Linked DNA regions of Homo sapiens: regions 1, 2, 3, 4, 6 and 7 are each linked to region 5. The links are contacts of gene promoters, found by promoter capture Hi-C in blood cells and fetal thymus (Javierre and others, 2016). All regions are on one chromosome and are shown on one strand. The core of a region is centred on a gene start or on the middle of the fragment in contact, and the rest is flanking DNA. Distances in the headings are between cores, read along the strand shown. Region 1 overlaps PRKCI (protein kinase C iota). Region 2 overlaps PHC3 (polyhomeotic homolog 3). Region 3 overlaps GPR160 (G protein-coupled receptor 160). Region 4 overlaps PHC3 (polyhomeotic homolog 3). Region 5 holds the start of MYNN (myoneurin). Region 6 overlaps PHC3 (polyhomeotic homolog 3). Region 7 has its middle 11 kb from the start of PHC3.

Evidence for each region. Contacts are between HindIII fragments. The CHiCAGO score rates a contact against its expected background, and 5 or more counts as called.
Region 1: a fragment that was not itself captured here is called in contact with the fragment with the promoter of MYNN in region 5 in 1 of 17 cell types (non-activated CD4 T cells); the score reaches 5.6 in non-activated CD4 T cells.
Region 2: a fragment that was not itself captured here is called in contact with the fragment with the promoter of MYNN in region 5 in 13 of 17 cell types (total B cells, naive B cells, naive CD4 T cells and 10 more); the score reaches 12.1 in total B cells.
Region 3: a contact is called between a fragment that was not itself captured here and the fragment with the promoter of MYNN in region 5, in 11 of 17 cell types (naive B cells, total B cells, total CD8 T cells and 8 more). The highest score is 10.0, in naive B cells.
Region 4: a fragment that was not itself captured here is called in contact with the fragment with the promoter of MYNN in region 5 in 5 of 17 cell types (total B cells, non-activated CD4 T cells, neutrophils and 2 more); the score reaches 8.5 in total B cells.
Region 6: a fragment that was not itself captured here is called in contact with the fragment with the promoter of MYNN in region 5 in 12 of 17 cell types (fetal thymus, naive CD4 T cells, total B cells and 9 more); the score reaches 9.7 in fetal thymus.
Region 7: a fragment that was not itself captured here is called in contact with the fragment with the promoter of MYNN in region 5 in 7 of 17 cell types (non-activated CD4 T cells, fetal thymus, activated CD4 T cells and 4 more); the score reaches 7.8 in non-activated CD4 T cells.

The regions. Positions count from the first base shown.
Region 1 is chr3:170,231,078-170,233,777 of GRCh38, forward strand. All of the region lies in intron 1 of PRKCI (protein kinase C iota), which reads left to right. Among named protein-coding and RNA genes, the nearest start is that of PRKCI, 10 kb to the left of the region's middle. The HindIII fragment of the contact is 1,306 bases long and covers 798-2,103 here.
Region 2 is chr3:170,149,407-170,152,106 of GRCh38, forward strand. All of the region lies in intron 4 of PHC3 (polyhomeotic homolog 3), which reads right to left. It also overlaps the pseudogene RNU6-315P. Among named protein-coding and RNA genes, the nearest start is that of PHC3, 31 kb to the right of the region's middle. The HindIII fragment of the contact is 1,781 bases long and covers 530-2,310 here.
Region 3 is chr3:170,084,793-170,087,492 of GRCh38, forward strand. GPR160 (G protein-coupled receptor 160) reads left to right here. Exons shown (of 4, transcript NM_014373.3): 4 at 1-600. The coding sequence ends at 197. Among named protein-coding and RNA genes, the nearest start is that of GPR160, 48 kb to the left of the region's middle. The HindIII fragment of the contact is 2,642 bases long and covers 73-2,700 here.
Region 4 is chr3:170,132,377-170,135,076 of GRCh38, forward strand. All of the region lies in intron 7 of PHC3 (polyhomeotic homolog 3), which reads right to left. Among named protein-coding and RNA genes, the nearest start is that of PHC3, 48 kb to the right of the region's middle. The HindIII fragment of the contact is 4,408 bases long and covers 1-2,700 here.
Region 5 is chr3:169,772,111-169,774,810 of GRCh38, forward strand. It overlaps MYNN (myoneurin), which reads left to right and starts at 1,286. Exons shown (of 8, transcript NM_018657.5): 1 at 1,286-1,352; 2 at 2,155-2,451. The coding sequence starts at 2,186. TRV-AAC1-1 (tRNA-Val (anticodon AAC) 1-1) reads left to right here and starts at 120; the gene lies at 120-192. RefSeq lists enhancers at 826-1,375, 949-1,452, 1,091-1,385. The HindIII fragment of the contact is 7,916 bases long and covers 1-2,700 here.
Region 6 is chr3:170,167,615-170,170,314 of GRCh38, forward strand. All of the region lies in intron 4 of PHC3 (polyhomeotic homolog 3), which reads right to left. Among named protein-coding and RNA genes, the nearest start is that of PHC3, 13 kb to the right of the region's middle. The HindIII fragment of the contact is 5,194 bases long and covers 1-2,700 here.
Region 7 is chr3:170,191,448-170,194,147 of GRCh38, forward strand. No RefSeq gene overlaps it. Among named protein-coding and RNA genes, the nearest start is that of PHC3, 11 kb to the left of the region's middle. The HindIII fragment of the contact is 3,214 bases long and covers 1-2,700 here.

The DNA of each region.
Region 1 (2,700 bases), core at 201-2,700, 460 kb after region 5:
GTCTCTCAAGTAGCTGGGATTACAGGCAAGGCGCTACCATGCCTGGCTAATTTTTGTATTTTTAGTGAAAATGGGGTTTCACCATGTTGGCCAGGCTGGTCTGGAACTCCTTACCTCAGGTGATCCATCTGCCTCGGCCTCCCGGAGTGTTGAGATTACAGGCTTGAGCCACCGTGCCCGGCCTATTCCTATATATTTTATAATCATGTGCTTTTGTGAATGGGGTCTTCTTGTAGACCTATTACATACTGTTTTCTTTTTGTATGTTTAAATTAAACTTTCCACCTTACTAATAATTTAACTGTCTTAGAATTTTTAAGCTAGATAATGTCATCTGCAAGTAGCAATTTTGCCTCTTCTTTTCTATATCTTATTTATTTATTTATTATTTATTTTATGTTTTTTGAGACAGAGTCTCACTCTGTCGCCCAGGCTGGAGTGTAGTGGCGTGATCTCGGCTCACTGCAACCTCCGCGTCCCAAGTTCAAGTGATTCTCCTGCCTCAGCCTCCTGAGTAGCTAGGATTACAGGCGTGCACCACCACACCTGGCTAATTTTTGTAGTTTTAGTAGAGATGGGGATTCGCCATGTTGGCCAGACTGGTCTCGAACGCCTGACCTCAGGTAATCCACCCACCTTGGCCTCCCAAAGTGCTAGGATTACAGGTGTGAGCCACTGCGCCCAGCCTTATTTATTTTTAGCCATAGGCTAGAATTTTCTAGACAGTATTGAATTATAGTAATAATCTCTTATCTTAGTGAAATATAATAGAAAAATTTCTGTCAATTAAAGAAAAAAGCTTTTAAAGAATTAAAGTTAGTGTTATTCAGAAATGTTACTGAGGCCGAGTGTGGTGGCTCACGCCTGTAATTGTGCCACTGCACTTCAACCTGGGTGACAGAGCGAGACTCTGTCTCAAAAAAAACTCAACTGAAAAAAGTGGAACAAAAGAAAAAGAACCATGATAAGTATTTTGCACTTTTTTTTTTTTTGAGGCACATTTCTACTCTGTCACCCAGGCTGAGTACAGTGGTGTAATCACAGCTCACTGCAGCCTTAACTGCCCAGGCTCACGCAGTCCTCCTACCTCAGCCTCCCAAGTAGTTGGGACTGTAGGCACACACCACTATGTCTGGCTAATTTTTAATTTTTTTGTAGAGACAAGGTCTCCCTGTGTTGCCCAGGCAGGCCTCGAACTCCTGTACCGAAGCGATCCTCCCACATTGGCCTTTCAAAGTGCTGGGATTATGGCATGAGCCACCTTGCCTGGCTGCACTCATTTATTTTCATTTATTTTTCATTTTTTGAGTCAGTGTCTTCCTCCATCACCCAGGCTAGAGTGCAATGACATAGTCACAGCTCACTGCAGCCTCAACTTCCTGGGCTCAAGCTGCACTTATTTAGTCTTCATGATAATACTCAGAGGCAGATATGATTATCTCCATTTTTCAGATAACATTGAGACTTACTAACCCACAATACAAAGCTGGGTGTGTTTTTTTTTTTAGAGACAGAGTCTTGCTCTGTCGCCCAAGCTGAAGTCCAATGGCTCGATCATGGCTCACTGCAGCCTTGAACTCCTGGGCTCAAATGATTCTCGTGAGTAGCTGGGACTACGCTATGCTTGGCTAATTACAAAAAAATTTTTTTTAGAGACAGGGTCTTGTTCTGTCACTGAGGCTGGCCTTGAACTCCTGAGGTGATCCTCCCGCCTCAGCATCCTGAGTAGGTGGGATTACAGGCACGAGCCACCTTGCCCAGCCAAAACTGGACCTTGAACTTCAAAGAGATTTCTCTTTTCCCCTTACTACATTGACAGGGCTTTATAACATTGCTTTTTTACTTTATTGTTACATTCATATTTCACAATTGTTATTTTTGAATTCACTATCTTCTTCATTATTAAAAGGTGGAAATTGCTTTATGACCTTTTTTATAATTAATAATTTGGGGGGTGATACTTTGAGATTATATGAATACTCTAGTCCCCCAAAACATTTTGCCCAATGGTCTTACCATTCATGGATAATCCTGCCTAAACCAATTATTATAATGGTTATTGCAAATAAAAGTATTTTTTCGAATAGCCTAATTTAGAAGAAAAGCTTACACTGAGGTAGCAGAAGGACTGAATGTGATTCTTTTGGGGGTTTATTTTTAAAAGCAATTAGTCCTAAGGAAAAACTTTATAATAGATTCTATATTTTAGAATATAGGCACATTGAAAGCAGTTTGTCTTCTGAAGCTCAATAGCAAAATAAAAAATGCTTAAAAAAATTCAGCTAAAACCATATCTAAATTTGCCATTTTGGGAATCTTTGTGATAAAGCAGATTATATTCTGTTGAGGATCAGTGGTAAAATAATTTATGCTAGTGCTGAAGTTAAACTGGAAAAAACATCATACGTGCATAATTTGTTTTATACCTTTAGAATGTAATATCTTTATTTTGCAGTTCATTTTTAGCTTTGGTACTGTAACAAGGATCTGGTGATTGTGGAATGTTATGAACATAGTGGTTTCGCAATTACTGAGAGCTAAGTGTTTATATAAAACTCCCTTGAATGTTTTAGTTCCTGGAACTTAAGGAGTGGTAGTTGATAAAGCATAACTCCTTCATTGAGTCTCTGATGGGTATCTATACTTAAACTTTTTTTTTTTTAAACAGAATCTCACTTTATCATCCAGGCTGGAGTGCAG
Region 2 (2,700 bases), core at 170-2,669, 380 kb after region 5:
TTATTTGCACATATGCAAACAATGGCATGGATTGGTTAGTAATCAGGGCAATTTTTTTTTTTTTAAGATGGGAGTTTCGCTCTTGTTGCCCAGACTGGAGTGCAAGTGCGCGATTTTGGCTCACTGCAACCTCCGCCTCCTGGGTTCAAGTGATTCTCCTGCCTAAGCCTCCCAAGTAGCTGGGATTACAGGCATACGCCACCACGCCCGGCTAATTTTGTATATTTTTATTAGAGACGGGGTTTCTCCATGTTGGTCAGGCTGGTCTCGAACTCCTGACCTTAGGTTATCCACCCACCTCGGCCTCCCAAAGTGCTAGGATTACAGGCATGAGCCACTGCACCCGGCCACAGTTTTTAAGGATAGCTACAACGTGTTTCAATAAGATTTCTAGTATCTTAAAATATCATTTCCACTACCTCCTAAAAATTAGGGCCAGTGCTCACTTCCGCAGCACATATACTAAAACTGGAACAATACAGAGAAGATTAGCATGGCTCCTGCCCAAAAATGACATTCAAATTCATGAAGCTTTCCATTAGTTTTAATAGGGGATTTTGTATGTTCTCAACACTAAGAAATGATCAATGATTTGAGATGATGGATATGCCAGTTACTCTGATTTGATCACTATACATGATATACATGTATTCAAATATCACCCTGTATCCCATAAATATGTATAGTTATTATGTGTCAGTTAAAAATTAAAAAAGAGCTACTGTTTCATTTTAATATTCCACATAACTTAAAACATCCTAATCAACAGTTTATTCTGTCACATTCTGAGGAGTTTGTGAACAAAAATTAAAACACAGATAATGCATTCACATATATAAAGACATACATGTAACACATAACCAGTGTAAAGCTGTAGTCAAAAGCTCTCAAGCAAAAGAAAATACTACTTCTCAAACAGATGGAAAAATCCTGAATATCAGCTACAAAATTAAATTATAAACACTAAAGTTTAAAACTTCTGTTAAAGAATAAACTAGAGCATTGTTGGCCGGGCGCAGTGGCTCACGCCTGTAATTCCAGCACTTTGGGAGGCCGAGGCGGGCGGATCACAAGGTCAGGAGATCGAGACCATCCTGGCTAACATGGTGAAACCCTGTCTCTACTAAAAAAAAAAAAAAAAAAAAAAATTAAAAAAATTAGCCGGGTGTGGTGGTGGGTGCCTGTAGTCCCAGCTACTCGGGAGGCTGAGGCAGAAGAATGGCGTGAACCTGGGAGGTGGAGCTTGCAGTGAGCCGAGATTGCGCCACTGCACTCCAGCCTGGGCGACAGAGCGACACTCCATCTAAAAAGAGAAAAGAAAAAAAGAAAAAAACCCAATAAACTAGTGCATTGTTAACCTCTAGAAGGATGCGTAAGAAACTGGTAACTGGTTGTATCTATAAAGAGACATTGGAGTGGGGTGGCTAGGGTAATAGGGAAAAGAAAAAGCATACTCTTTTTTTTATCTTTCTAATTTTAGACCACATGTATATATTACCCATTTTAAAAATAAATAATATTTTTGGCCGGGTGAGGTGGCTCCAGCCTATAATCCCAGCACTTTGGGAGGCTGAGGTGGGCGGATCGCAAGGTCAGGAGTTTGAGACCAGCCTGACCAACATGGTGAAATCCCATTTCTACTAAAAATACAAAAATTAGCCAGGTGTGATGGCACGCGCCTGTAATCCCAGCTACTCAGAAGGCTGAGGCAGGAGAATCGCTTGAACCCGGGAGGCGGAGGTTGCAGTGACCCAAGATCACGCCACTACACTCCAGCCTGGGCAACAGAGCGAGACTCTGTCTCAAATACTAGTAATAATAATAATAATATTTTTAAACAGAGAATAATATAATCCAACCTCAAATCATTTTGTGGAACAAAGCACAGAATACAATTAATAAATATTTTATTAGAAAAAAGAATACTTTATTGGACTTCTTATTCAAGCAACAAGGCAGACTGGACTAATACATCCATGTGACCAAACGGTATCACTGAAATGCTAGATCAACATGAAAAAATCAGAATATACAGCAGAACTCCAAAAGGGAGAGAAAAGCTGGGAAAGGAAATTCCTGGTGCCAGAAAGGAAGAAACTCAAAGCCAGAGAGATGTCACCTCAGCTGACACCAAGGCAGTCTATAAGGGTATCTTGGTTCTATAGAGCCAGAAGATCCATCTTTGTGCTTATTTCAGGGGAGGGCTACAAGTCAAATCCCTATTTTGAGCCAAAATCCTGAAAAGAGCTGCCCAATATGTAAGAAGGAGCTGGAAAAGCTCCACCCATACGTTCTGAGAAACAGCAAAGAAGCTTGCATCTGCCCTGCTCCTAGTGGAGGCAGGGAAGGAGGTACCTATGAGAATCAAAACTCCAGGCTTACACCAGGTAGGGGTATAGAATCCACATCCACACTCCCTGTACGGTTCCATAACCCAGCCCAAGACATTAACATCTGAACTAACCCAGGACACTTGTTAAACTGAATGGTGACTGGAGGAAGCTGAGTGAAGTTTATATAGGAGGACCTCTCTGTACTAGTTTTGCAACTTCCTATGATTTATAGGAATTTAATTTATAATTATTTTAAAATAAAAAAGTTTAAAAAACTGTATAGTAGGCACATGACAGTTGGTTATCTAATTCTCTAAATGTATATATATCACATATTTTTATTTTAATATAATAGTTAAATGTATAA
Region 3 (2,700 bases), core at 144-2,643, 310 kb after region 5:
AGATGAATATTCCCTGGTTATACTTTGTCAATAGTTTTCTCATTGCTACAGTGTATTGGTTTAATTGTCACAAGCTTAATTTAAAAGACATTGGATTACCTTTGGATCCATTTGTCAACTGGAAGTGCTGCTTCATTCCACTTACAATTCCTAATCTTGAGCAAATTGAAAAGCCTATATCAATAATGATTTGTTAATATTATTAATTAAAAGTTACAGCTGTCATAAGATCATAATTTTATGAACAGAAAGAACTCAGGACATATTAAAAAATAAACTGAACTAAAACAACTTTTGCCCCCTGACTGATAGCATTTCAGAATGTGTCTTTTGAAGGGCTATGATACCAGTTATTAAATAGTGTTTTATTTTAAAAACAAAATAATTCCAAGAAGTTTTTATAGTTATTCAGGGACACTATATTACAAATATTACTTTGTTATTAACACAAAAAGTGATAAGAGTTAACATTTGGCTATACTGATGTTTGTGTTACTCAAAAAAACTACTGGATGCAAACTGTTATGTAAATCTGAGATTTCACTGACAACTTTAAGATATCAACCTAAACATTTTTATTAAATGTTCAAATGAAAGCAAGAAAGTAAAAATTGTTCTTAAAATGATTTGGCATAAAGTTCAATGTAAGAGGAAGAAGAAGATTACCTCATTTTAAATGTAGCTAATTAATTTTAAAAAGTATATCTCTGTTTTTAATGCAAATATTCCTGGAAGAAGAGGGTTTTGGTTGCTCACCTTATGGAACTGGGAGCAGTGACTAGGTCCCTTTCGATGATTCAGCAGATTCGTTTTCATATTATAAAACTTGTATGTCATCACATACTTGCATATCACATCATAATCACGTTAGCAATGATGTATCACACGTAAAAGTAGAATTTCTCATCCTCGGCACGCTTGACATTTGGGGTTGGTTAATTTTTTGTTGTGGGGCAGTTTAGCAGGATCCCTGCTCTCTGCCCACTGACTGATTGGTGGCACCTCCATGCCCAGTAGACACAATAAAAAATGTCTCCAGACATTGCCAAATCTCCCCCGGTGGATAGGCAGAGTTGCTTCACTGGAGTAAAACAATATGAGTGGCAGGATCATCATCTTACATTACTTTAGGAATTAAGCTACATAGATATTTTTTATCACCATTTAAAAATACTATATTGCATAAATCTAAACCTAGCTTTTCCTAAATTGGTGGCTTTTGATTTTTTTTGATATTTATAGTAAGATATATTTTTTAACATCATGACCTATAGACTTGTATGTACGTTTATGTGTACATACAAGTAACATACTTACCCTTACATAACATGTATAACATGTACATGTACATACAAGTATAACAATACTTACCCTTACATATCATGCAAATATGTTTTTTAGTGTCATTTTTTAAATGCTGGTTTTTATCCACTAAATTGAGTTGATGATCCACAAATGGATTACTTTCTGTTATTTGAAAAAATGTCCTAAAACAAGCGCTATGGAACACTAATAATGGCAAAAAGATTTAAGAAATGTGTCCTGTGTGCCAGGTACCGTCTTAAGTGTTTGTTTTACATGCAGCAACTGATTTAATCCTTATAGCAACTCTGACAGGAACTATTATCCCCTTCTTACAGATGAGGAAATTTAAACATTGAAAGTAAGAAACTCACTATGATACAACTAGACAGACATTGGGGAAGCTGGGATGCAAACCCAGAATTCTGGTCCACAGTTCTTGCTCTTTACCACTGTATTACATTGCCTTTCATTGGTGCCACTGACTTCTCAAAAAGAAAAGAATGGTTTCAGAGTCAAATGTGAAGAATGTTGTTTCTTAATTATTATTATTTATTTTTCACTTGAAAATGTACAACGCCCATGAACACCTTAAGGCTTTATAGTGCTATAATGAAGAAGAAGAAAACCATTTACTTGAGCACACAAGTCTCTTTAATTAGCTAAAATTAATTAATTAAGCATCTATAAAGACAAGTTGGGAAATGCTCCTGGAGAGTCAGTCAAGAATTCTTTGAGTAGCAGGTAATACAAACTCAACCTGAGCCATTCTAAGAACAAGCTGGATATTGGCAAGAACTTACTTAGTAAACTACTAGGAGAATCTCTCTGAGTTGTCGGTTTCCATTTTGTGTCCACAAAGTGGGTGTTCTGGCTGCCAGCAGCTCAGGGCTTTCATAATTAATTACACTTACTTAAAGCATCTCCTAACTTCTTCAAATATACAGTCCCGGGGAATGACTGTTCAACCTGACTTCAATCATATGTCCACCTCTCTATGATCAGATCTGTTAACAGAAGACATGGCAGGGAAGAGAAATAATAACCAATATAATGGGTGGTACAATGTTAAAATATATATATACTTGAGAAAATAATAAATAATAGGAATAAAAATCACATTCTATAAAAACCAAATGCATATAGACAGCCAACTATATCGAAAGTTTAGGACAAATAATCCTATGTTCAAGACAACATCAGGGTGTGTTTAAACAGTTTAGAACTCTTCTTAAACCCGGCCCCCTCTTTCCTTCTATTACTTTTTCCTCTAAATATATTGCCTTCTAGTTGTTGGCCAAATATGGGACTGAAATATGTTTAAATATATTGAAATTAATCAGTAAAGACTTGCTTACACTCTTTGCAGATTTTAAATCAGGAGATTTTTAAAACCAT
Region 4 (2,700 bases), core at 69-2,568, 360 kb after region 5:
AACTGAGTCTAGGGCCCTGTTATGGACTGAATGTTTGTGGCACAAAATTCGTATGCTGAAGCCCTAACTCCCAATGTGTATTTGTAGATGGGGCCTCTAAGGAAGTAACAAAGGTTAAATGAGGTCATAGGGTGGGGCCCTGACATGACATGGTTTGTGCCCTTTTAAGAAAAGACATCAGAGAGCTTCTGCTCCCTCCACCCACCACACACTCAAGGCCATGTGAGGACATCTGCAAGCCAGGAAGTGAGCCTTCACCAGAAACTGAACACTGCCAGACCTCGATCTTGGGCTTTCCAGCCTCCAGGACTGTGAGAAAATTAATTTCTGCTCTTTAAGCCACAGTCTATGGTATTTTGTTATGGCAGCTGGAGCAGATTGATTAATACAGGACCTTCTCACTACACAATGAATTAATGTCTACAAAAAACAGTATATATTTTTTCCAATTAAGCTAGTTTCATAAAAGCTCTAAAAACTGTGATAGAAAAACTTCAGCTCTAATACAGTTCATGTTTCCAAACATTTAAAGTTTGACCTTATTTTACATATTAAAAATAGAATTTACTATGTATCAAGTGGAAACTCCACCTTCAAAAAGAAATGATAAAGAAAACCAAGTTACTTTGGCACCCTAAAAATACATATAAGAAAACAATAACCATGTATACTATAATAATTAGACTATACTACATTAGAATACAAGTAGATTTTTTTACATTTAAAATGACTTGAAGGAACATTTTTCTAATTGAGGACAAATAATCAATTGAGAATATCTCAAAATATCTTCGCTTCAGATTAACTTTTTTTTTTTTTTTTAGATGGAGTCTCGCTCTTTTGCCAGGCAGGAGTGCAGTGGTGTGATCTCGACTCACTGCAACCTCCGCCTCCCAGGTTCAAGCGATTCTCCTGCCTCAGCCTCCAGAGTAGCTGGAATTACAAGAGCGCGCCACCATGCCTGGCTAATTTTTGTATTTTTAGTAGAGACGGGGTTTCACCATGTTGGCCAGGATGGTCTCGATCTCTTGACCTCATGATCTGCCCGCCTCAGCCTCCCAAAGTGCTGGGATTACAGGCGTGAGCCACCGTGCCAGGCCAAGATTAACTTCTTACCAATAAAAGCAGAAAAACTAAAAAGGTGAAAAATATAGCTATAGCCTTAATAGAAGATATGAATGGCTTTGAATAACTGCAGTGTAAGGCTTAAGAAACTTTTAAGTAGTTCAGGATTTTCTGCGTGGTTTGTTTATAATCAACAACATCAAGGAAAATTGGAGTATATGTAAGATCTGAATTTGGACTTAAAACTGACCTGAGACTCTGGTGGTTTTGGCTTACTGGTTTCCTCCATACTTACACAAGATATTGACCATCAGAGGAATGCAAACTATAAGCATATTATCACACTATTAATGAAAGAGGGGAGAATAAGCTGCAATTCAGAACCAGATATTGAGAGTTAAGGGGGACTGAAAAATCCAAAACTAGATTTCCTTGCTTGAACTAACCCTGAAAGAGTTCCCGGCTTTCTCTGAAAGTAACGTTCTCTTTAGAAAGAAATCAATCTACCTTTCATTATAATTTATCAAAACTGCAGGAATCACTAGAAATTGTCCCTGAGCAGTCATCCTAAGGACCATGGGTCACCATTGCTCCACACTGTCAAAACTAGCCAGACGCTGGTTTGAGGCTGAGAATACTCTGTACAGTAGTGTAAAAACCCAGCTTTTATGCCATACAGAGAGCAGCGCCTAGCACACAGAGGTTTAAAAAAAAAAAATAAGAATTCGTGTCTAACTATACTACGAATATATATATATATATTTTTGAGACGGAGTCTTGCTCTGTCACCCAGGCTGGAGTGCAATGGGGCGATTCCGGCTCACTGTAACCTCCACCTCCCCGGTTCAAGTAATTCTCCTGCCTCAGCCTCCCATGTAGCTGGGACTACAGGTGCCGGCCACTACGCACGGCTAATTTTTGTATTTTTAGTAGAGACGGGGTTTCACCATGTTGGTCAGGCTGGTCTAGAACTCCCGACCTGAGGTGATCTGCCCTCCTCAGCCTCCCAAAGTGCTGGGATTATAGATGTGAGCTACCGCGCCCAGCTTGAATATATTTATTAATTTATACATTATATCAAAGCCTACTTACATAAGATTCAGATTTAACAATTCTAAGTATAGTGATACCTAATTAGTACCAATAAGAAAGACTGCAATAATTCCCAAAATCCAAGTGGGAAAAAAAAATGAACTATTAATCCAACAAATATGTACCTCCTACCTAACATACGTAAGTACGTATAAGATACAACTTAGTGCTGTCAAGATACAAGGATGAAAAGATGAATCCAAAAAGGGATTAAAGAGTTAATGTAAAGTACTAACACAGTGCCTCACACATACATAAATGCCCAATATTATTATCTTACCCTCAAGGAGCTTACTATCTAGCAGACAAGCTAAGATCAGTATATAAGTAACTATAAAGGAAAGAGAACCAGAAGGGACCATAAAAGTTCAGAGGGAGGAGAAATTTCTAACTAGGGTAATCAGACAATGCCACAGTATTGAGATTCAGTGATGTAGAGAATGCTGGCAGTATTAACACAGGAAACTTGAGAAGTGAAATAGGTTTAAGTGGAATATTTTACACTTACACCTAAGTATAAAACAAGTCTTTAAAAAGCAAAGC
Region 5 (2,700 bases), core at 36-2,535:
TTTCTGTTTTTTTCTTTAAATACATTATATTCATTCCTCTCAATTTGATAATAATCACTTGAGAATTGCGAATTGACACTTACATATCAAGGACTTTACAAAACCCTCTCCAAAGTGGGGTTTCCGTAGTGTAGTGGTTATCACGTTCGCCTAACACGCGAAAGGTCCCCGGTTCGAAACCGGGCGGAAACACACTAAAAAATCCCTTTTTTTTTTTTTTTTTTTTTCCTTCGCTTGGAAGAAAGCGTGAGATCACGCTTTGTTTTCTTTTGTTGTTTGTTTTGTTTTTTTTTCTGAGGGAAGCCTTAGCTTAATGTATGCCGGTCCTTCAAAAGACATGATAGCAATTTGAGAGTCTGAACTGTAAGTTTTTGTTACTTTATTCGTTCACCAAATGTTTTTATGGAAGCCTTGCCACGTGGAACATGTGTCCCGGGTTTTAAAAAATGAATTTGACTCACCAGCTAACACTGAAAAAATAATGTACAGCCTAGAAGGAAAGATCAAAGTGTAAAAGTGGTTAGTCCTGTCGCCTCCTGAGCATTTTTGTATTATATCACTTGGTTTTTCGTCTGAAGTGGCTGTAAATAATCGTATTAAAAATCTTCTGGTCCAGACGCAGGAAAACCTTTTCCGGTATAAAGCCCACCTTCCTCTAATGTTGCGCATGCCCACTGTGCCCAGCTGCTCCGCTTTCGTGCATCCCAGACTTCTGTCACCAGGTAAGGGCATCTTGGAAGCTGAGCTACAGTTGGCTGGGGCACAAAAAAACCAGGGGGTGCCAAGAGTTTTCAGGTACGTAAGCGGGAAAGGGGTGCCAAGTCTCAGCTAAAAAATCCCCTATGGCAGAGATCCGAGTACACATGCAGCAGTTTCCACCGGTGGGGCCCCGAGGAAGGGGAGGATGATGGGAGAAGACAAGCAACTACAAGCCCCCGCACGCAGTGCGCAGCTGGCTTCAGGAGAGAGGCCCGCGGTGCTGTGCTGCCGGGCCTCGGCGCAGAGCCCCGGCAGAGCGCCAGACGCTGACTGCCGGCACCAGAATGCTCGCGATGAGGAAGACAGGCGGAGCGCTGCGAGCTAGCGAGCCCTCAGCTCTCGTATCCATGACGCCTGCTGCTTCGGGGGACCCCTGGCATGCTGGGGAGTGGGTCTCTGTGGTACATCCTGTACCGCCCTGGCCGGCGCCGGACCCCCATGGCCCCAGAACCTCCCGCACTGCCACGGGAAGACAGAGCCGGACGTGACGCCACCGTGGAAGGAAGGGAGGGGCGGAGCGTGGCTCGGTGACGTCCTCCCAAGATGGCGGAGACAGAGTGAAGAAACTGTGTTCCCCCCTTGGGTTGCTATCGGTGAGTTCCTACTTCACCCCCAGCCCGCCATCCCGGTCTCTCTAGAGCCTGGGCCATCAGAGGGCAGGCTCCTTGGAGTTCCAGCACGGGTCGGGGCGCAGGTGGAAGGCTTGGGCTAGGCAGCCCCGGGGTGGCCTGGGCCACAACCTCTGCTGTGGAAATTCGCGGGAGTGGGAGCTGGGCAGAGGGCAGGGCGGCAGAAGCCGAGGAGGGACTGGCTTTGGTTGTCACTCTCGGATGCCGCCTCGCGTAGAGAGTGGGAAGGGAGAAGGTGTGGCCTCCTTAGCGCGAGTGATAGAACCTTTGACAGCAAGCCATGGCCGGGCGCATTCCCGGCTTTCTGGGCAGCCACCTCTCGTTTTGGAGAAACTGCACTGGGGAAACTAACAGGTTTTGGTGACTTGAGAGCAGTTTTTAAAAACTCGTACTGTTCTGCCCCTATCTGTCCCAAGAGATCATGTCTTAGTGGTTTAAAAAATTTTTTTGTAACATAAGTATGTCTACTGAGCTTGAAAATCTGAGGGTTCAACAGATGTGAAAGCGTCAGGTTTTGCTGTGCTTTTTGCAGGTGGTAGAAGTGTTGCCATTCACCGTCACTTATTGATGTGTCCAAAGGATTGTGTTAGTTGATCAAGGTAACCAAAGATAGAAAGGCACTCATCCCTTCATTCTTAACCATGTATGTTTGATAAGGATTTTCAAGGGGGCTAAAATTGTTTAAGTTATGTCCTCTGTCCCTTCCCTCACTGAACGTTGATGAGAACTTACGGTTACTGATTTACTGTTTCTTTTTGTCTTTTAGATCAAGGGTAAAATTCCATTCTGATATCAAAATGCAGTATTCGCACCACTGTGAGCACCTTTTAGAGAGACTGAACAAACAGCGGGAAGCAGGTTTTCTCTGTGACTGTACCATAGTGATTGGGGAATTCCAGTTTAAAGCTCATAGGAATGTGCTGGCCTCCTTTAGTGAGTATTTTGGTGCGATCTACAGAAGCACTTCTGAGAACAATGTCTTTCTTGATCAGAGTCAGGTGAAGGCTGATGGATTTCAGAAACTGTTGGAGTTTATATACACAGGAACTTTAAATCTTGACAGGTAAAGTACACATTTTATTTTCAGTTATAAAAGCTAGTCAGTAGTCTTCACAGCAAAAGTAGATTTGTATTTTTTCCATTCATTCTCTGAACTCAAATTCTTCACCTATTTATGCACACAATGTTTGTTTTTATAAAGAAATCAGTATCACTGATTTAGGATGAGCAGGCAATATTTTTCATAAGCACAGATAATAAACAGTAAGATTTCTGACACGTTTATTTACTGAAACAAAGCCTGTGATTTCAC
Region 6 (2,700 bases), core at 131-2,630, 400 kb after region 5:
CCGGGCATGGTGGCGTATGCCTGTAGTCCCAGCTGCCTGGGAGGCTGAGGCAGGAGAATCGCTTGAACCCAAGAGGTGGAGGTTGCAATGAGCCAAGATCACACCACTGCACTCCAGCCTGGGCGACAGAGCAAGGCTTCATCTCAAAAAAAAAAAAAAAAGTCTTTCTTTTAAAAATTACCAACTGAGAACTTCTGTGAATTCTCACTGTTTATCTTACTAATATGAGTCTTCAGTATGTTAGAAATATTATCAGCCAGGTGTAGTGGCTCATGCCTATACCACATAATCCCAGCACTTTGTGACCTGTGGTTGGAGGATCACTTGAGCTCAGGAGTTCGAGACCAGTCTGCCTGGGGAACACAGCGAGACCTCAACTCTAATAAAAATTTTAAAAATGAGCCAGGCATAGTGGTGTGCGCCTGTAGTCCCAGCTACTCAGCAGTCTGAGGTAGGAGGATCACTTGAGCCTGGGAGATTGAGGCGGTAGTGAGTTATGATCGTGCCACTGCACTCCAGCCTCAGAGGAAGACTCTGTCAAAGGAAAGGAAAGGGAATGGAAAGGCAAAGTCAAAGGGAAAGGGAAAGGAAGGCTAAAATTCTCCCTGTCTTCCCTTTTGAAAAAAAAATTAAAGTAAAAAAGGAAAAGAAATATTACCCATTTATGCAAACATATTTTCTCCCATTTTGCTGTTTTCACTTTGCTTATGCCGTTTTTTGGCAGAAGTAGAATTTTTAGTTGGTTTAACTTCCATTTTAAAATTTAACTAGATCTTTGCTCCATTTAAGTTGAAATACTAAAGACATAAACCTAAAGGCTCAGTCCGAATTAGTTTTAGAGCCAAACAATCATAAAATCACCACTCCACGGCCGGGCACGGTGGCTCACGCCTGTAATCCCAGCACTTTGGGAGGCCGAGGCAGGTGGATCACAAGGTCAAGAGATTGAGACCATCATGGCTAAGACGGTGAAATCCCATCTCTAAAAAATTAGCAGGGTGCGGTGGCGGGCGCCTGTAGTCCCAGCTACTCAGGAGGCTGATGCAGGAGAATGGCGTGAACTCGGGAGGCGGAGCTTGCGGTGAGCCGAGATCACGCCACTGCACTCCAGCCTGGGAGACAGAGCGAGACTCCGTCTCAAAAAAAAAAAAAAAAAAAAAATCACCACTCCACTACTGACAATAGTGTAGAATTAGTCATGATTCTAATTAGAGAAAAGAAAAGAATGCAGGTACCCACTCGTTACCTATACATTCAATTAACAAGTCTACTCTCCAAACCACATATAGATGGAGTATCTGTTATATGAAATCCTTGCGACCAGAAGTGTTTCGGATTTTTTTTTTTTTTTCAGATTTTGGAAAGATACAAACTGGTTTAGCATGCCAAATCTAAAAATCCAAAATCCAAAATGTTCCAATGAACACTCCTCCTTTGAATGTCATGTTGGTGTGCAAAAATTTCAGATTTTAGAGCATTTCGGGTTTTCATATTAGGAATAATCAATCAGTAGGTACACAGTTCCCCCAGGTGGTATGACTGGACTTTGGACTTGATTTTTAAAATAATATTCCATTTCCCCATTGGGATCCCACTCCTACTCTAAGCCCCAACTACCTAGCTGGTTACCTGACAGCTGTTTTTTCTTCTGGAGAATGGACCCTTTCCCACGGCTTCACTGTTATCTGGAAACCTAACTCAAAATAATCAAAACTCTGAAAACTACTAGTCTGTTACCTGATGGCTCATTATCATCACTACTTAAGAGATCTGTTACCATGCTCCCCCCCGTTTTTGGATATTGACCTAAATTTACTAAGTTACCTTGGGCATTGTAATTTTTACTGCTAGTCAAATTACTTGAGCAGAAGCTCACAACGGATAGTAAATAAAGCAAATGTAATGTATTATTCCTTTATTTTACTGGGAATCTGTTCTTCCTACTTACTTATCTTCCCCCACCAGCCATTTACAGCTTTTGGCATACTTCATGGTATAATGCTGCTGGTTTATGACAAGTAACATTAACAATGTCATATATATAAGCACAATCACTAGAATTCTAACTTCTGTGAATGTCACATACATAAAGCCATAATGAAAGACAGTTTAAAAAGATACCTTTTAATAACATGAAGGAAAAAAATTCAAAATAACATATCTATACAAATACATCCTATTGTTATTCCAGTATTTCACAGAATAAAGAATTTGTCTATATAATTTCCTTCAGTAGCCCACAAAATATTTACCACTCCTTTCCTTAATTACCATTGTATTAAAGACATCTGATGTCAATGACAAAAACTCCAGTATTAATGCTTAAGAGCTAGGTTACATTATTTAAGTTTTTCATTTAATCTAACATCTTCAAGTCATAGGGAACTTTTTAAACTAATCTTGTTCACACTCCAGGACATTCCCACGCCAAAAAAAAAAAGTCAGATCAACAGCCAGAAAAAAAAACCAAACAACAAAAAAAACCACAGCTATATGCTGACCACAGCATGTAGTTAGCAAAGACCATACCCTTAGCTGAAGAAATAGAGCACAATTCCTTAACCTTCAATTCCTTAACAACCTACAAACTATATTGTATTGGAGCCAATTTTATGAAGTATCAAAGTATTACCATTCTGGACCAGGAAAAAATATCTAGAAAGGACATTATTAGGTTCTCAACTACAGGCAGTTTGCCCC
Region 7 (2,700 bases), core at 134-2,633, 420 kb after region 5:
GTCAGCCAAGAATTATTATTATTATTATTATTATTTTAGACAGAGTCTCGCTCTGTCGCCCAGGCTGGAGTACAGTGGCACGATCTCGGCTCACTGCAACCTCTGCCTCCTGGGTTCATGTGATTATCTTGCCTCAGCCTCAAAAGTAGCTGGGATTACAGGCATGCACCACCATGCCCTGCTAATTTTGTATTTTTAGTAGAGGCGGGATTTCACTATGTTGACCAGACTGGTCTCGAACTCCTGACCTCATGATCCACCCACCTCAGCCTCCCAAAGTGTTGGGATTACAGGCGTGAGCCACCACGCCCAGCAAGAATTTTTTTTTGAGAGGGAGTCTTGCTTTGTCACCCAGGCTGGAGTGCAGTGGCACCATCTCGGCTCACTGCAAGCTCCACCTCCTGGGTTCACGCCATTCTCCTGCCTCAGCCTCCCCAGTAACTGGGACTACAGGCACCCGCCACCACACCCAGCTAATATTTGTATTTTTAGTAGAGACGGGGTTTCACCGTATTAGCCAGGATGTTCTCGATCTCCTGACCTTGTGATCCACCCACCTCGGCCTCCCAAAGTGCTGGGATTACAGGCATGGGCCACCAAGCCCGGCCCATTAAGAATTTTTTTTTAAGGCAGGGTCTCACTCTCTTGCCCAGGCTGGAGTGGAATGGCACGATCATGGCTCACTGCAACCTCAACCTCCCTGGGCTCAGGTGACCCTCCCACTTCAGTGCATCCCACCACACATGGCTAATTTTTGTATTTTTTGTACAGATGGGGCTTCACCATGCTGCCCAGGCTGCTCTTGAACTCCTGAGCTCAAGTCATCTCCCATCTTGGCCTCCCAAAGTGCTAGGATTACAGGCATGAGCCACCACGCCCAACCTAGCCAACGATTTTGTATGTAGCAAAACTAAGTTTCATAAATAAAGGAGAAATAAAATCATTTTCAGACAAACAAATGCTTAGGGAACTTGTCACTACCAGACCAGCCCAACAAGAAATGCTAAAAGCTGTTCTAAATCCTGAAACAAAAGGCTGATATGCACTAGAGTAGAACCTCTTGATGGCATAAAACTCATGGGGCATATAAAACAATAACACAGTGAATAAAACAAAGTATCTAGGTAACAAATAACATGATGACTGGAACAGTACCTCACATCTCTCTTTTTTTTTTTGAGATGGAGTCTCACTCTGGCGCCAGGCTAGAGTACATTGGCACAATCTCGGCTTACCGCAACCTCTGACTCCCTGGTTCAAGCAATTTTCTGCCTCAGCCTCCCGAGTAGCTTGGATTACAGGTGCCTGCCACCATGCTCAGCTAATTTTTGTATTTTTAGTGGAGACGGGGTTTCCCCATGTTGGCCAGGATGGTCTCCATCTCTTGACCTCGTGATCTGCCCGCCTCAGCCTCCCAAAGTGCTGGGATTGCAGGCATGGCCTTTTTGGGTTTTTTTGTTTTTTGCAGGGAGGGGACAGGGTCTTGCTCTGTCACCTGGGCTGGAGTGCAGTGGTACAATCTTGGCTCACTGTAACCTCCACCTCCTGGGCTCAAGTGGGCTTCCCACCTCAGCCTCCTGAGTAGCTGGGACTATAGGTGTGCACCATCACACCCAGTTAAGTTTGTGTGTGTGTGTGTGTGTGTGTGTGTGTGTGTGTGTATTTTTTGTAGAGATGGGGTTTCGCCATGTTGCCCAGGCTGCTCTGGAATTCCTGGGCTCAAGTAATTCTTCCACCTCAGCTTCCCAAAGTGCTAGCATTATAGGTGTGAGCCACCACCATACCCAGCCTCAAATCTCAATATTAATGTTGAATGTAAACAGCCTAAATGCTTCACTTAAAAGATACAGATTGGCAGAATGGGTCTAAAAATTGCAAACCAAATATCTGTTGTCTTCAAGGGACTTATATAACACATAAAGATTCAGATAAACTCAAGGTAAAGGAGTGGATAAAGATATTCCATGCAAATGGAAACCCAAAGCAAGCAGGAGTAGCTATTCTTCTATCAGATAAGATAGACTTTAAAGCAACAACAGCCAGGTGTGGCAGTTCACACCTGCAATCTCAGCCCTTTGGGAGGCTGAGGCAGGAGGATCCCTTGAACCCAGGAGTTCAAGACCAGCCTAGGCAACACAGCAAGACCCTGTCTCTATGAAAAAATTTAAAAATTAGCCTGGTGTGGTGGTGTGTGCCTGCAATCCCAGCTAATGAGGAGGCTGAAGTGGGACAATCACTTGTGTGTCGTAGGTTCAGGCTGCAGTGAGCTGTGATCATCCCACTCTACTCCTGCCTGAGCAATAAAGCCAGACCCTGTCTCAATAAATAAATAAGTAAATAGCAACAACAGTAAAAAAAAAAAAAAAAAGGACAAAGAAGATAATTATATAATGATAAAAGGATCAATCCAACAAGAAGATATTACAATCCTAAATTCATATGTACCAATACTGGAGCTCTAAGATTCATAAAACATTTACTACTGGACCTAAGAAATGAGATAGACAGCAACACAATGATAGTGGGGCACTTCAACACTCCACTCGCAGCATTAGACAGATCATCAAGACAGAAAGTCGGCAAAGAAAAAAATGGATTTAAAACTACACTCTAGAACAAATGGACCTAACGGATATTTACAGAACATTCTACCAGAGAACTGCAGGATAAACATTCTTCTCTTCAGCACGTGGAACATTT